2 separate regions of the Homo sapiens genome follow, and region 2 is linked to region 1. Evidence: promoter capture Hi-C in 16 types of primary human blood cells and fetal thymus (Javierre and others, 2016). All regions are on one chromosome and are shown on one strand. Each heading gives the region's core, a stretch centred on a gene start or on the middle of the fragment in contact. The rest is flanking DNA. Distances are from core to core; before and after follow the strand shown. Region 1 holds the start of LINC01888 (long intergenic non-protein coding RNA 1888). Region 2 overlaps APLF (aprataxin and PNKP like factor).

Region 1 (3,032 bases), core at 526-3,025:
TTGGTAGTTAAAAGAAAAATTCCCAGTTGATTCCAATATACAATCAGGATGGTTAAATAGTTTTAAAACTGCTAAGTTTGGCTTTAGTCATGACTAATGGTAATATTAATTCTACCTGCTCCCCTTTCCCATCTCCAGTTAACACAGCTACATTCTCTGATTTACAGGCTGATTTTTCATGTGTTTATTCATCTAGGATAAGACATGATTAAGTGATACAGAATGGATTTATGTTATATGCCCATTATGCAGATGGTGAAAAGTGAGCCCAAAATTTTTTTAAAAAATGAGTATAACAGTAGCTTAGTATGAACAAATCCAAGGATTTTGAGAATTCCTAAATATATGGGGACACTGTTTACTTGCTTTAAGGATTGACTCTAAACATAGGCAAAGAAGATAAGCACTTGAGGGCCTGATTTAAAGAGTCCCGAGAATAGCTCTGATGAAAATCATCTCTTTTTCAGACTCATGTTAGATTGAGAAATCCCTACCAGTAGCCTTTGGAATATTAACCACAAACGTGATATTTCTGGGAGACTCCATGAAGCCTCCATTAATCGTTAGTATCATCTTTATATTAGTTATCTGCTTCCCAGCAGAAAGCTGTGTAATGAAGGAACGAGAGCCTGGCCAGATAAGCAGTGCTGTGGGTGGAGGAACAGATCAAGAGTATGGATGTTGGCCAGGCACAGTGGCTCACGCCTGTAATCCCAGCACTTTGGGAGGCCGAGGCGGGCAGATCACGAGGTCAGGAGTTCGACGCCAGTCTGGCCAACATAGTGAAACCCTGTCTCTACCAAAAATACAAAAAATTAGCCGGGTATGGTGGTGTGCGCCTGTAATCCCAGCTACTCTGGAGGCTGAGGCAGGAGAATCACGTGAACCTGAGAGGCGGAGGTTGCAGTGAGCCGAGATCTCGCCATTGCACTCCAACCTGGGTGACAGTGGGAGACTCTATCTCAAAAAAAAAAAAAAAGTATGGATGTTACCTAGGAGTATTGCAGTGTGGGCCCCTGGCTGCCTTAGGTGGGGTGAGGGTGCAAAAATCAGGCCTTAAAAAGGGAAACGGGGACTCATCATCAGGGTGGACGGAGAAATGGTTTGCCCCCACATACACCTGATACCTGCTCAAAGTTGGCACTTGTCCTCCTTCCTTCTCTCTGTTCTCCCTTATTGATGTCCTTTCAGTCCTGCTGAGGCCAGCCCATGCTAAACATCACCCTGGTTCTTGGGTCTTTGTTCAGCATCAGTAGCAATATCATGACAATAACTACCAATAATAAGCAACAAATACCATTTTAATACTTTCTGGTGAGCACTGTATCCATGTCATTTCCTTTAAATCTCAAATCAACTCTTTTCTGATTGCAATCAAACCTGTTTTACTGAGGTCTCAATGTGGCTTAGCTAGGAACTGAAGCGTATATACAGTCTACACAAGGCTACATTATCCTTGCCCTCACATAGGGAGGAAGTACAACATAGAAAATGACCCCTTGGCAGAGATGGACTAAAGCAAAATCTGCAAAGACTTTTTCTTTAAAAGGCTGGCAGGGATTCTGGAAAGAACCACTAACTGCCTTGTCTGACTCAGCATCAAGATGGAAAAATATACAGAGGCTGTTGCCTTCCCCACAGCCTAAGTCAAATCCACCTGCTTGCTCTGAGGCTGTCTGGGAGGCCACACATCACCATGCCCTTTCCTGGAGTCAATTCTTGGTCCCATGTCATTAGCCCCACCCTCGAAAGAACTCTGGGAATGGGGTTGCCTTGGAGTCCCCGGTTCCGTGTGGCTAAAGAGTGAGCCTCTCATATCTCCATGCTGAATTTCCTCACTCATTCACAACCCTCCTTTCCATTTCAAGAAATCTTTCTGTTCCCACAAGCCTGGGAGGGCCTTTGAGTGGGGCATATTGGGTAAGTTTGAAGGAGTACTGCCAGTGAGACCTTCAAAAGACTCTGTGTGAATGGGCTGGTGTTGGTGGGAGGAAACAGGGTCACAGATTCCCCTTCCCTTCCCCCTTGTAAGATGTGTCATCAGTTAAATATAGGCTCTGGCCCTGTGGACGTTTACAGGCTAAGACAGCCCGCCCTGACTGGGGCTCACAGCTTCTGAGAGGAGGACACTGGGATGTCTTCAGCCCATTTCACGTGGGCTGACTGTTTCCAAAACACTCCTGGTGGGTCAGCGAGCAGAGGAAGTGTTACCATGTGATCACTTTAGAAACACCCACCTAATGACGCACTAACACGGATTTGCCCTCTGTTTTTCACATTTGATCATTCCTGACACTTTGGCGAGGAAACAAAACCCTATTTCTCTTAGAAGTCACTCCTTCCCTGGATGTGAAAGAGGGCAGTGGTTTCCCTGTCAGTCCTCTTTTAGGGAAAGATCTGGGTGAGCACATGACCCAGCTCAGCTGGTCTGGGGCTGGACACAGACACAATTGTGAGAACTTGAACTGACTCACCAGGAAGCAGGTGGTTGGGACTAGGTACTGTTGTCTATTTCAGTGCTAGATATTGCCTTTAATGAAAAACTAGCCCCAATCAGAAAAAAGCCAACACCACGCTCTGCAATACTAAGTTGACTCACCTGTTGAAATGCTGTTTATTAAGCAAAACCAGTATCCTCAGAATTCCAGCTTTCACTTTCAAGTTTCTTATGTGGGATTTCATAGTATTGGGCCCAGTGATGTGTACATCAATGGTTTGGCTTGCTGTTTATGCTACTTATTTACTCGAGCAGTCACTCTGGTGTGTTCCCATGGCTTTTCTGAAAGTATTAGAATACAGCTCCCAAAGAATGTGAGTGCTATTGGAGAAATAAAATACATGGAAATCATATGGCATCCAGCAATTGCTATGCCTATCTTGAGATAGCTGATCCCTAGATAAGCTTGGTAGTTGTGTTACCAATGATGTCTTTTCTTAGTACACATAGATTGTACTCAAGGAATAGCAAAATGTTACAACACTGATTCTTCCTCCTATAGTTAATGGCATTTTAAAAGAGTTATGCTTGACTA
Region 2 (2,900 bases), core at 149-2,648, 340 kb before region 1:
GTATATATTATGATTTGGTTTAAAATTGAATACTCCAAATAATAAGAAAGCCCATAACTATTAATGGTTGGTTTTTTGAGCTGGGGTAGTGACCAAAGTAACTTAAATGTTATAGGGTTATATTTTAACATATTCTCTATCACTCTGTATAGAGTTGAATATTTCTAAAACTTAGACTTTGTTCAACTTCGAGGTTTGAAAAATGATTTTAATTTGAAAGTTTTTGTTGAGGGCTCGAATTTTAATTGCTTGCTTTATAGTTTACTGCTGCGAAATCACTGATGATATGCAGGGACAGCCAGTTTCCAAGAATATACAATGTGATTATTCCTTTTCATTTGCAGAGTCTATTGTGTAAGAGAATGAAATACGTACATAAGGGTCCATTTATTTTAGACTAGATCGTATGGTGGTAAAATTTCATGGAATTCATTAATTTATAACTTTTTAAAACCAATTTGTATTTTCATATTTTATATACCACTGCCTGTTAAATCATTAGTTCTTTCTTTTACACAGATAGTACTTGCTTTTATTATCCTATGTTTAACTGTTTGCAAATTTGGAAAGCATCTTTTTAATTTTAGTACTTGGAAATTTTTTGAATAAAAAATTATTCAATGTATTCACCTTATCTCAACCTTGAATAAATAATCTTTAAAAGAGTTTATGTCTCATCTTCATTCTGCATTATCTTATTGTCTTGAAAAAGTGTTAATATCTGGAGTCAACACTTCTTTAGGAGCCACTGTATTTACCATTAGATATTCATCTCTGTATCCTCTCCAGCTATCTTATTCTTCTGAGATGACATACTGGATCATAAGGCCCTTGAGTGTAGGAACTCTGACTAATCTTTGTATCCCTAGTGTTTAGCATAGTGCCTAAGACATAGTAGGTATTTAATTAATATTTGTTGAATGCATGAGTAAACGCTGTGGTGAGAACTATCTATGGCATATCTAGGAGTGGGAACATGGTAGATTTTTACAAAAGTATGTTATTCTCTAGTGCCCAATTTCTAATACCCTGCCAATGAACTACCATGGCCTAAAATAAGTTTTTTTGTTGTTACTAAAGCACATTAAAGGAAAGAATAGAGGGATCTTGAAATATAGAAATGATTATTTTTTATTTATATAGATTTAGGGAGTGCAGTGCAGTTTTGTTACATGATTATATTGTGAAATGGTGAAATCTGAGCTTTTAGTGTAACCGTCACCTGAATAGTGTACATTGTACCCATTAGGTAATTTCTCAACCCTGTCCCACCTCTCACACTACCACCCTTCTGAGTCTCCAGTGTCTGCTCTGCCACTGTGTCCATGTCAGCACATTTATTTTGTGAACAAATTAACCAGTGGAATTGTGGACAACTCAATAGATATCAGATTTTCTCTTTACACTCTTTGTTTACTCAATGATAAGAAGAAACCCTTCTTATAACAAAATTGACATGGCATTAAATTTTTTTATATCAAAAATAGGTGATTAGAAAACCGTCATATTTACTAATGCATGAATATTTTAAACATTTACATTTTTTCTCAGTGTTAATCAAGGACATTTATATTTTAAAATGTTTTATAAATTGGCTTTAATAAAGGTGCTTAGTTGGAGTTGTGTCTATACTTGGCTGAAAATTATTCAGATATATTTTGTACTTTTGTGGCTATTCAAAAGAGTACTAATAAGGCTGGGCGCGGTGGCTCACGTCTGTAATCCCAGCACTTTGGGAGGCCGGGGTGGGTGGATCACGAGGTCAGGAGATCGAGACCATCCTGGCTAACACGGTGAAACGCCGTCTCTACTAAAAATACAAAAAATTAGCCGGGCACGGTGGTGGGCGCCTGTAGTCCCAGCTACTCTGGAGGCTGAGGCAGGAGAATGGCGTGAACCCGGGAGGCGGAGCTTGCAGTGAGCCGAGATTGTGCCACTGCACTCCAGCCTGGGCGACAGAACGAGACTCCGCCTCAAAAAACAAACAAAAAAAGAGTACTAATAATGTAAAATAAATATGCCCAAATTAAAGGTGATTTTATTAGTTGAAAATCTTACCTTGAGTTAAATTTTATCCAGTATGTACTGAGCCAAATTTCTATGTGAGATTTTAGCAGTGTTCAGTTATAAAAAGGCTCCTTTTTAAAATACTCTTCACTTTTACTGGGTCTTTAATTAGATGGTACGCAGATCATAAAACCACTATGTATGACATTAACAGGTGTCTTTTGAGCACAAAACTGTAGTAGAAATAATACTAGAAGCTAGAGCAAAAATTCCTCATGACCACTAGATATAAAACTAAAATTTGGAATGATTTATTTAAGTTATACCTCTGTTTATGATCTTTTAAATATTATTTAGTGTAATTTTGTAAACTTTCCCATAAATGTGATGTTTAGACATGGGAGAAAGGTAGCTCTTTTTTATCCTTTTTCGAGTACCTTTTTTTGACAACTTAGAATGTCATAGCCTTCTGGAGAACGTCTGATCTTAAATACTCAGCAAATTCTAGAATGGGAATGAGAGCCCAGGTTCTTTGAACTCTGTAGTATTTTTTTGTTGTTGTTATGTTTCTGAAGTCAGGATTCTCTTGGCATTGGGTGTCTTTTCTTTAAAAAAATTTCTTCAAGTTACAACTAATTGATGATCTGTCTTAACAAGAAGTTTTAGTGCCTTCAGTTGAATAATATTTTAGAACTGAAAGCAACCTTAGATTTGGACTTATGTATGTGGAAATTTGACTGGGCCAGGGCTAGCATTGCGTATCAGTGGGGAAGAGGAGTTTTTATCAGTAAATGGTACTGGGACAGTTATCTGTTTGGAAAAAAAAATTAGATCCCTACTGCAGACCCAAAAATCTACTCCAGGTAGATTAAATGTGAGAGTCAAACTATAAA

What was found. Contacts are between HindIII fragments. The CHiCAGO score rates a contact against its expected background, and 5 or more counts as called.
Region 2: a contact is called between a fragment that was not itself captured here and the fragment with the promoter of LINC01888 in region 1, in 10 of 17 cell types (naive CD4 T cells, total CD4 T cells, total B cells and 7 more). The highest score is 9.5, in naive CD4 T cells.

The regions. Positions count from the first base shown.
Region 1 is chr2:68,830,233-68,833,264 of GRCh38, forward strand. LINC01888 (long intergenic non-protein coding RNA 1888) reads left to right here and starts at 1,776. Exons shown (of 2, transcript NR_183895.1): 1 at 1,776-1,920. It overlaps LINC01890 (long intergenic non-protein coding RNA 1890), which reads right to left. Exons shown (of 4, transcript NR_183884.1): 2 at 2,600-2,818; 3 at 1,128-1,273. The HindIII fragment of the contact is 9,437 bases long and covers 1-2,900 here.
Region 2 is chr2:68,490,503-68,493,402 of GRCh38, forward strand. All of the region lies in intron 2 of APLF (aprataxin and PNKP like factor), which reads left to right. Among named protein-coding and RNA genes, the nearest start is that of APLF, 24 kb to the left of the region's middle. The HindIII fragment of the contact is 4,870 bases long and covers 1-2,900 here.